Regions from separate parts of the Homo sapiens genome. Here region 1 is linked to region 2. The links are contacts of gene promoters, found by promoter capture Hi-C in human tissues and cell types (Jung and others, 2019). All regions are on one chromosome and are shown on one strand. Each heading gives the region's core, a stretch centred on a gene start or on the middle of the fragment in contact. The rest is flanking DNA. Distances are from core to core; before and after follow the strand shown.

Region 1 (5,763 bases), core at 2,041-4,540, 1.3 Mb before region 2:
TTATAGAAAATCTTGAACAGTACAAGATTTTCATAATTAAGGCATGCAAAACTGCTTGGGCTCTTTGATTCCAGGTGTCCTCTTCTCCCTTCTGCTTTTGCCATCTATGTTCAATATAATTCTAACCCAGTCTAAGTATGGAGAAAATTCCTACCCTGCCTGCTTTTATAGCTCATCAAATTTCCCTGTATCAGCTATCACTTTTCTGGTAGGTGTAGTCTGATTTCTGTCTGTCATGCCTTTGCCACAATCCTTTCTTTGAAGAGTAGGTAAAATGATCTATTTAAAGTGTTAATCACATTGCTCTAATATATAAAGCCTCCAGTGGTTTCCCATATCACTCTGTAAAATGCCCCTTGCCAGCCTCTCCCATCAACCTCGCTTTTTCTGTTCTTGTATATGCACATCTCTTCCTGAGCCTTTATTGCCATCCTCATGTGGGGATGTTTCTGTCTCAGAGATAGTCTTTATTCAGGTCCCACTCTGCAGTCCTCTCCAGAGGGGCTGCTTTCACCACCCCTTCTAAGTAAGCCTCTCTAAACACCTCTATCATATTCTATCCCTTAGCCAGCACTAATTTTTTCATAATGCTTACCACTAACTGAAATTTACTTTATCATTTAATCTCTTCCTCATTAGAATGTAAGCTCGTAAGGGAGGGGCAGCTCTGTAGTTTATTCATTATTGTATGTCCCTCACCTAATCCTATGAGTGTCTGGCCCATATTAGGGTATGTAATAAATATTACTTGAGGAATGAATGAATTTAACATACTACCAATTCTCTGAGTGACTCTTTTTAAAGCCTTCATCATCATTCACACTTTCTTGTCTTTCATATGGGCATGTCCAATCACCCTTCCATGAATATCTGTACCTGTTACAAAGAGAGGACTAGGTTCCTGGAGTTCATAGATGTAAACAACATCCTAGGGGTAGCAAACTGGTGGGCCCTGAGCCAAATCCTGGCCTGCACATGTATTTTGTTTGAGTTGTACAATGTTTGTTATAAATGAACTGGCTGATAATATTTTTTAATTGGAAATGTTTACATTAAAAACCTAGACTTCTAGCTGCTCTTAAAAAATAAAAATACGGCTGGGCACTGTGGCTTATGCCTGTAATCCTAACACTTTGGGAGGCTGAGGTGGGCGGATCACTTGAGGTCAGGAGTTCCAAACTAGCCTGGTCAACATGGCGAAACCTCATCTCTACTAAAAATACCAAAAAATTAGCCAGGCATGGTGGCGGGTGCCTATAATCCCAGCTACTCAGGAGGCTGAGGCAGGAGAATTGCTTGAACCCAGGAGGTGGAGGTTGCAGTAAGCCGAGATCGTGCCACTGCACTCCAGTCTGGGTGACAGAGCAAGACTGTTGAAAAAAAAAAAAAAAGCCGGGCGTGGTGGCACATGCCTGTAATCCCAGCTACTCGGGAGGCTGAGTCAGGAGAATCACTTGAACCCAGGAGGCGGAGGTTGCATAGAGCCAAGATCGTGCCATTGCACTTCAACTTGGGCTACAGAGCGAGACTTAAAACAACAACAACAACAACAACAAAAAAAACATGAGATCCACAATACTCCAGGCCACAGTTAACTAGCATCCAGTAGCCATCCGGGTGAGGCTGCATGCTGCAGTGCGTGACGATTCCCTCCACCCCCTGTTAATTGTGTAACACTGAAGCCAGGTGCAGGTGTCAGTTGGCAGGTATCAGTGTGCTGATGCTATTTTCTTGAATTCTGCCCTTTTGCTCATTGATGTTACTTACTTGGCTCTTGACACCTGATATCTCACGGAATATTCCAAGACAATGTGAATCACCAAATCTGTGAATGTGGCATTGTTTGACTAGGCTCCTGGGTCAGTTAAATCAGATTGTTTTCTGTGCCCCAAATCAGTAGTGAACCACCATATAGCTAAACCTTTTCAAACGAATTTCTCACTTCAGTGACTTTTACACTGCTAGAGCACTTAACAGAGCACATGACACATCATATCTTTGTACAGAGGGCCCGGCACATAAATCTCACTGTGAGGCTCAGTTTTCCACCCTAAATTACAAAATTTAATTTCTTGCCCAAAATGATTTTCTGCCCCAGATGTGTTATTTTCATGGACCTTTCAAACCAAATTTTAGTCATTTAACAAAAATTAATACAACATAGACCAACAATGAACAAATAAAGCCACATTTAAATTGATTAGCCGGGCTCTCAGCCCCTAGCTGACTTCTTTTACACACGCAATTGAAATCAAGAGTCTCAGATAAACTTCCAACTTATTTGAAAACAGTCAAATTGCAAATGTCAAGCATCTACTTGCATATAATCTGATGAGGACTATAATGATAGGTTTCTACCTAGAGAAATAAGGGTAGGTGAAGTCTCAATGCTTAGATACGTGGCACATACCTGCATGTAATTAATATTCAGTTGGAGGCAAAGACAATGTTTTAAAAAGCCAAATGACATCCAGAATAATCCTCAGTATATTTTAGAGCCAAGCAACAGTACAATGAGTGCCAAGTTTAAAGAAGAAAGATGGACCACTGTGGCCTAGAAGGCCCTGGAAAATTTTTAGAGGACAGGGAATGTGGGCTGCACTTTGGATGGGAGAAGGTTTTAAAGGACAAAGAGGAAGCCTGGCATAGTGGTGCACCTGTAGACCCAACTACTTGGGAGGCTGATACAGGAGGATCGCTTGAGCCCGGGAGTTCAAGACTGTAGTATGCTATGATTGTTCCACTGCATTCCAACCTGGGCAACAGCAGCAAGACCCTGTTTCAGGGTAAAAGAAAAAAAGAAAGACAAAGAGGAAGAGGCCCAAGAGATGGTGTTCAATGCTGACATCCTCTATTAGCTGTGCAATCTTACACATCTTACTTAACCACTCTAAGCTTCCATGTTCCCTTCTGTAATGAGTTAGTAATTAAGCCTAGTGTATTCAGATATGAAGGTTAAAGGAAATAATGTATATAATACACTTAACACAGTGTTAGGTGTGTAAATGTCCAATAAACGTTATCATTATTAGCATCTTCAGACACTTGAGGATGCCAGACTATGGCGTCTTGTAGACCAGAGCGCCATTGTTTTAAAAGTGGGTGACTGTAATTCCTAGGGTTTCCTAGGGCTGCTGTCACAAATTACCACAAACTTGGTAGCTTAAAACAACAAATAATTACTCCTTCACATTTCTGGAATCTAGAAGTCTGAAATCCAGATGACAGCAGGGCCATGCTTTCTCTAAGTCCACCCTTGTTTCTTTGTAGTTTCTGGTGGTTCCCGGCAATCCTTGGTTTTCTTTGGCCTGTAGCTGCATCACTTGTCTCTGCCTCCATCTTCACATGGCCTTTTTCTCTGTATGTGTATGTCTTCTAAGGATACCAGGGCCTGCCCTAACCCAGTATGTCCTCATCTTAACAAAGTACATCTGCAAAGACCCTATTTCCAAATAAGATTACATTCTGAGGTTCTAGGTGGACATCAATTTTGGGGAGACACTAGTCAACCCTTTTCAGTGACATAAGAAAAATAATAAAGAACCTGAAGTGGACTTTTAAAGAAATTTTCATTTTGAAATAATTTCAGATTTACAAAAAAGTTGCAAAAATTGTGTGAAGAAATTTTATATATCCTTCACCCAGATTCACCAAATGTTAACATTTCACCACACTTGCTTTTTCACTTTTTGTGGTGTCTTTTCTGCTCTGCTCGAGAGTAAGTTGCAGTCATTGTTTCTTTACCTGTAAGTACTTCAGTATATATTACTTAAAAACAAGGACGTTATCTTACATATCCACAATATAATTACCAAAGTCAGAGAATTTAACATATTGACCAATACTGTAATCTATCGACCAGACATTGCCAATATTGCAAATATTGATCTATTGATCAAATATTGCCAATTTTCCTACTAGTGCCCTATTTTCTGGTCCAGAATCCAACCTAGAATCATACATTGTCTTTAGTCGTAATCTTTTTAGTCTCTTTTCATTGTAATTGTTCCTCAGTCTGTCTTTGCTTTCATAACCTTGACATTTTTAAAGAGTGAAAACCAAACTTGCCCAATCCACGGCCCATGGGTCGCATGCAGCCCAGGATGGCTTTGAATGTGGCCCAACACAAATTCGCAAACTTTCTTAAAACATGATACTTTTTTGCGATTTTTCTTTTCTTTTCTTTTTTTTGCTCATCAGCTATTGTTAGTATTAGTGTATTTTATGTGTGGCCCAAGACAATCCTTCCAATGTGGCCCAGGGAAGCCAGAAGATTGGACACCCCTGTTGTAAACTGATGGTTCTGTCGAATATTTTTTAATTTGAGTTTGCCCTATTTTTTTTTTTTTGTGATTAGATTTGGGTTCTGTGTTTTTGGCAGGAGAAATACAACAGAAGCCAGGTTGTGTCCTCAGTGCCTCATTAGGAGGCACAGTGTTAATTTGCCCCAGTAACCAATGGTGTTAACTATGATCATTGGTTAAGGTGCTGTCTGCCAGTGTTCTCTATTAAAAAGTTACTATTTTACACTTTGTAATTAACAAGTAGCTTTTGGGGGAGATACTTTAGATCATATAAATATTGTTTCTTTTGTTTTTTATTTATTTTTTTGAGACAGAGTCTTGCTCCATCTCCCAGGCTGGAGTGCAGTGGCATGATCTGGGCTCACTGCAACCTCTACCTCCTGGGTTCAAGTGATTCTCCTGCCTCAGCCTCCCAAGTAGCTGGGATTACACACGCCTGCCACCACACCCAGCTTTTTTTTTTTTTTTTTTTTTGTATTTTTAGTGGAGATGGGATTTCGCCATGTTGGCCAGGCTGGCCTCAAACTCCTGAACTCAGGTGATCCACCCACCTTGGCCTCCCAGAGTGCTGGGATTATAGGCGGGAGCCACTGCACTCAGCCTAGATAATATCAATAGTGCTTCTTAATTAACTTCTGCCTACTAATTCTAGCATCCATTGATGATTTTTACCTGAAATAACTATTGAAAATGATTTTTAAATTTCAGCATTCGCTCGACATTTATTAGTTGGAATGCCACTGTAAGAAAGAGCTTTCTTTTCTCCTTCATTTATTCATTTGTTTATATGTTTCAGTATGGACTCATTCTATGAAGTTATAATCCATTACTATCATTATTTCGTTACTCAAATTCCGATGTGGCCAATGGAAACCCCTTTAAGATAGTTCCTGTGTCCTTTATTATTTATTTATTTATTTAGATGGAGTCTTGCTCTGTCACCAGGCTGGAGTGCAGTGGCGCGATCTTGGCTCACTGCAACCTCCACCTCCTGGGTTCAAGTGATTCTCCTGCCTCGGCCTCCCGAGTAGCTGGGACTACAGGTGCGCACCACCACGCCCAGCTAATTTTTGTATTTTTAGTAGAGACGGGGTTTCACCATGTTGGCCAGGATGGTCTCAATATCTTGATCTCGTGATTTGCCCGCCCTGGACTCCCAAAGTGCTGGGATTACAGGCATGAGCCACCACACTCGGCCTCCTGTGACCTTTAAGATGAATATTTTAAAGACTTTTTCCCACATGTGTACCTTTCCAGAAGGTTCACACCATTTGTGCTTTCTCTAGACCTGTATAACCAGAAGCTCTTGGGAACATGAGTTCTTGAGAATATCAGCACTGGCGTCAGAGGGGATGAAATAACTTTCAAAGATCAGGATAACTACCTTGCCAATGTATAGGGCTTCTCATGGCTGCAGTTTCCAGAACAACTTTTCTTTTGGTCCAGGACGATCTTCCCC
Region 2 (5,777 bases), core at 2,686-5,185:
CCACTCTAAATGAATATCCTAACGGAATAAAATCTGAAAAATCTAACTTTTATCTAAGAAAAAAATTTACTAAGTTGTGACAAAAGGTGATATAGTTGTTTAATTCTCAGTACATCCCAGATAAAAATCCCAAGTTATATTCCCATTCCATTCAAAATCTTAAATTTGGAAATTCCAAACTTAAAATTAACATTATTAAATGCCATTAAAGATTCTGTATCACATGCAATCACTAAGGGAGAGTTTATAAAACATCTTTCATCCAAGTATGATATAACCTAGTCATAACCTCTCAATGATAGGACAGGTACCACCTTTACTCCAACCAAGAGTTTCACCCTTAGACAGGGGAAAAGAGTAGGAAACTTGACAAGTCACCCAAAGCATTACTCTGATAATGCTGCCTTAATAAAACTCAAGTTACTATGTCAAATACACCCCTGCCATAATAAAAAGTTTTTAAAGAAAAGCTGATCACCTATGCTGTGAGGATGCAAAGGCATAAGAATGACACAATGGACTTTGGAGACTCAGGGGGAAAGGGTAGGAAGCGGGTGAGGGATAAAAGACTACATACTGGGTGTTGTGTATACCGTTCGGGTGATGGGTGCACCAAAATCTCACAAATCACCACTAAAGAATTTGCTCATGGCTGGGCATGGTGGCTCACGCCTGTAATCCCAGCACTTTGGGAGGCTGAGGCAGGTGGATCACGAGGCCAGGAGATCAAGACCATCCTGGCTAACACAGTGAAACCCTGTCTCTACTAAAAATACAAAAAAATTAGCTAGGCATGGTGGCGGGCGCCTGTAGTTCCAGCTACTTGGGAGGCTGAGGCAGGAGAACTGCGTGAACCTAGGAGGCAGAGCTTGCAGTGAGCCGAGATCACACCACTGCACTCCAGCCTGGGCGACAGAGCTAGACTCCATCTCAAAAAAAAAAAAAAGAACTTACTCATGTAACCTAACGACACCTGCTCCCCAATAACATACGGAAATAAAAAATTTAAATAAATAAAATACTGGCCAGGCACAGTGGCTCACTACTGTAATCCCAGCACTTTGGGACGCTAAAGTGGGAGGATAGCTTGAGCCCAGGAGTTCCAGACCAGCCTGAGCAACACAGCGAGAACTGTCTCTACAAAAAATAAAAATTAGCAGGGCGGGGTGATCCACGCCTGTACTTCCAGCTACTCAGGAGGCTAAAGAAGTCAAGGCAGCAGTGAGCTGTGATCACACCACTGCACTCCAGCTTGGGTGACAGAGCAAGATCCTGTCTCAAAAAAATAATATAAATTAAAAATTAAATAAAATATTGTGTATAAAAAATAATTAAAATAACCCAAATGCTTTCATAGCTTTTAGGCCCCTCTCCAGTTTCTATCATGCAAAAACGCCGTTTTAGAAAATCCTGATAACTGAAATGTACCAGAAACAGGAATCAAAACCAGCTCTTGCCCAACTTTTAATTTATGAACTAAGATACACACAGCCAAGGCCCAATCAATGTACAAAGTAAGCCTTTCCTCCCAAGGGAAAGGTGGTTCAGTGGTAGGCTATGGAAAATAAGACTCCTACTTATTTCCAGGTGGGCCTCTTAGAAATATGCATAATAAAGTAGGTGATATAAGGTATTTCCCCATATTTAATATCTCTTTACTTAAAATGTTTATGATCACTGGCATGTTATGGTTTGTCAGGACTTTCTTCCTCAGGGGTACATACAATAATCATAGATTTGATGAAATATATTAATTCTCCAGATGTTCCTCTTGAAAATGCTTCCAATTCAGTCCACAACTAATTGTTAACATAGTTTTTAAAATGTTTAATTATGCTATAAAACATAAAGAACCTTGAAATAAAATTAATTCACCCTAGGCTCAAATATAGCAAACTGATAAGATTATCTTTGTCATTCCAACTAGAGCAAAACAAAGAAAAAATACCAGTTAGGAAAAAGAAAAATCCTCTTATATACTCTGGAAACAAATCTTATACTTTTCTGTCACTTAGTTTTGTGAAAATACTCCTCTCAAATGCACTATATATTTTTCAAAGCCCATAAATTAAATTTCAGTCCTTCTAACACCAGTTATTTCATCTATCAGCATAAAGATGAATCTTTCCAATGAGTTGTAAGACTCAAAACTAGGCAGAAAAATGCTTTGCAAGTCGACTAGTAATCGGGAAAGAGCTGGACAATGGGGTTTACATTTGCTCCTTAGGTCAGAAACTAAAGGTTTGTGTGTCTTAACAGCTCCCTGGACCTAAGCACCACTGGTGCCTTGGTTTAAAAGAGTTAAAATCAGCTACCTTATAATCTTTTACTCATTGTTCGACAAATACTTTTTGAATGATTACCGGGTGCTAAGCAACCATTCAAGAGGACCTCCTAAGATGTGACCCTTGAGCAGCACCTTTTAAAAAGAATGTTAAAATTCTGCCTGAACAAGGCACTACTATCTGACGTAGAGCACCAAATCCACCTCGAAGTATACAATCCCACCCCCCGAATGAAATTTAATTAAGTTTTTTCCTAAAGCTAGGCCCTCAACAGCGTACAGAGGAGGTGTATCTTAATGAAGTAAATCGCAATTCAAAACTGCACGGTTTCCCGCTGGCAAAACTGACTTAGTGAAGGTCAGAAAGAACTCCAGGCCAATGAAAATTTTAATACAGAGGTGAAAGCGAAGGTGCCCAATTCAAAAGCGGGACGAAAGTAAGAGGAACGGTCTAAGAAAAGTGAGTTGGAGGAGAGATGAGCAGCAGCGGTCAAACGTGCTCTCCCCGCCGGGTACGTCAAGGCGGCAACTTTTCCAGCACTCCGGAACTCCGGACTGCCCAGGCCTCGGGCGAGCTGGCACGGCTCGCGTCCCGGGGAGGGACCCCAAAGGCGGGGAAGCGGGTTACCCCGCAAACCAGCAAGCTCGACAGGGAGCAAGCTGGACGGGGGCGGGACCTGGACACACACCCTTTCCTCTCTGAGAAGGAAGCGGGGAGGGAGAACGGAGTGCGCGACCCTGGGGCCACCAGCCCTCACGCGGGCCTGCAGGGGCGTTGGGGGAGGGGGAAGACAGTGCAGCTCCGAGGGGTTCGTCCAGAACCGGCCTAACCGCCGCGGAGCCCAAGGCTGGCGGGGGGAATGGAGCGGGCCTCGCCGAGGGCAGGCGGGAAACGGGGTGGCGGGAAGACCAGAGGCCGGCCCAGCTCCAACGCCGCACAGGAGGCCCCGACCCTGCCCTGCCTTCGGCGGGCCCCGGGATCGCCACAACGGGCCCCCAGCCTCCCAGAGGGACGGGGTGGGAGCCGAGGAAGCCCCCACCCCGACACGCAGACACACAAGCCCGCTCGCCGCCCTACCCCCACCCTCGCGCCGCGCTCGCGGGCTCTGCGCCCCACAGCGGCGCGGGGGAGGCGGGGGCCAGCGACGCGGCCGCGGGGAGCTGATGCCCTCCCCGACGCCCGGACCTCGACACGCAGACAAGATCAACAAAGCATCGCCGCTCCCGAGATAAAACATGCCACAGGCCCCGACCAGGGACTCTACGACGCGTGGCTGCCCGGGGCGCAGGGCTGCGCGGACGGGCTGGGGGAAGGGGGTGGGGAAGGGCCTCGCGGGGTGGCTCCCCGGTCCGGGAGCCTCGCCTCCGCCGGGATGCGGTGCTGCAGGGACCCCCACGCTGACCTTGGAGTCTCCGTTGCACAGAGCCATCGGGGCCAGGGCCGGAGCCGCGGCGGTGACGGCGACAGTACGAGACGGGGCGGGAGGGTGCCGGAAGGGTCGGCGCCGCGGGCTGAGGTTGAGAAGGAGGCCTGGTCGAGGAGCAGCCGGCAGCGGAGAGGAGCCAGCCGCCAGAAAAGCGCCGAATGGAGCAACAGCAGCGGAGCGCGGGCCCCAGCGCCGCGGGAGAGAAGACCAGCAGCGCGCACGCTGCCCCCGCCTCCTGCTTCCGCCCCGGCCGGCCACTGGGAGGAGCCAGAGCCCGTTCGGCTTGGCAGCCGAGCCTCAGATACCCTCCGCAGCCGCCGCCAAACCGGCCGGCCCTCGAGAGGAGGGGCTCGCGGCGCCCGGCCCCGCCCCCAGCCCGGTCCCCGCCGGCAAAGCCGGCCGGGTCTCCCGCGGCCCGCCCTTGGGAGGAGGAGCCCGCGGCATCCACCGGCTCCGCCCCTCCTGCCCTCGCACCGAGGAGCCCGCCCCGGAGGAGGGGCCTGTGGCGCCGGCCAGGAGAAAAACCGAAGCCGAATCCGAGCTAGTTTGCTGCTGCCGGATTTGCCTGCTACCTTGGATGACTTCGGGAGGCTGGCGGCACCGAAGAGGCCTCCTGAGAGCTGGGCCCCTGGCGGAACTCTTAGCCGGTGGCGTGGCCTTATCTCAGGTTGCTGGACATGAAGGAGGCCAAGGCTGCTTTGGAAAGTTCCGTGGCCATATCTCAAGGATGTCATTGTAGGAACTGATCACTTAGATACTTCAAAAGTTATACAGCTCCCCACAAATACAGCAGGTGCAGTATTTCCAAAGAAAAGGGAGTTTGGGAGTGGTAATCTGGTGAGCAGCTGGCCCAGGGAACTGGTCGTGAAGCTCTGTTTGCACAACAGTGTTTTTATTGGAATTGTTTGTGGGGAAGGGGCTGCAGTCCCTCCACCTACCCCTTGGCAACCATCATGATGATGAGGTGTTACTTTGAATTTGGTTACCTAGAGGCCTAAATCGAGATTGGGGTATAAAGAATAATACTTGAGATGGCTTCCAGCTAACAAAGCCTTTCCACAAATATTTTTATTATAATACAGCCAACATTTTGCTGCAGTCATTCTTGTGTCAGACTGTAGCTAGGGTATTAAGGAGCCAGAGTGAGAAAATACTTTAAAAGCTAACTTTAACCAATCCCGTGAAAGTAGTAAGGTAGGATTGATGTTCTTATCCTTTTTACAAATGAGGAAATTGAGGCTTAGTGAGATAATGTGCCTCTCAGTATATATAGAATGTAAGGCCTGCCCAATCTGGGAAAGTGTAGACAGTTTATTAGTGAAATATTTACAAAAACGAAAGGCTTAAGGTCCTAGTGGGCCTGAGACTTAAGTATTTCGCTTACCTTTTTTTGAACGGAAAATTGAATATTTGAACTCTCCAAAGCCATGGATACTGGCTTCTCTGGGTAGGTCTGTATGCACAATCTAAAGAAGAGTGCAGTAACCAATAGGAGAACCTCAACTTACATAAACATCCACCCCTAATGGAGTGGAATGTGATGTGATATACTGGCATTAAGGATTGGCTAAGTCCCATCTATCTTAAACAATGCTTAGTTTAAATATATTCTAGGCTGGGCGTGGTGGCTCACACCTGTAATCCCAGCACTTTGGGAGGCCTAGGCGGGTGGATTACCTGAGGTCAGAGTTCCAGAACAGGCTGGCCAACATCATGAAACCTGTCTCTACTAAAAATACAAAAATTAGCCAGGCGTGGTGGCATGCGCCTATAATCCCAGCTACTCGGGAGGCTGAGGCAGGAGAATCGCTTGAACCCGGGAGGTGGAGGTTGCAGGGAGCCAAGATCATGCCATTGCACACCAGCCTGGGTGACAACAGCGAAACTCCATCTCAAAATAAACAAATAAATAAATAAATTCTAGTGGTCACCTGTGCTTAATGGCTAAGAATGTTGGCATGCACACAATATAGGATCCTGATATTCTTTCTTCTTTAGCTTCTGACTCTATTGACCCATCCCTCTTTGTTGAAACTGGATTTTCCTTAAAATGCACCAAAAAGTTG

The links. Contacts are between HindIII fragments. The study calls those that stand out against the background at their distance.
Region 1: a contact is called between a fragment that was not itself captured here and the fragment with the promoter of GMPS in region 2, in 1 of the 25 tissues and cell types used here (ovary).

The regions. Positions count from the first base shown.
Region 1 is chr3:157,138,462-157,144,224 of GRCh38, reverse strand. It overlaps a transcript of CCNL1 not described here. Among named protein-coding and RNA genes, the nearest start is that of LINC00880, 18 kb to the right of the region's middle. The HindIII fragment of the contact is 4,382 bases long and covers 1,100-5,481 here.
Region 2 is chr3:155,868,808-155,874,584 of GRCh38, reverse strand. GMPS (guanine monophosphate synthase) reads right to left here and starts at 3,935. Exons shown (of 16, transcript NM_003875.3): 1 at 3,688-3,935. The coding sequence starts at 3,714. RefSeq lists enhancers at 3,142-3,901, 4,441-4,490 and a silencer at 3,081-4,300. The HindIII fragment of the contact is 29,940 bases long and covers 1-5,777 here.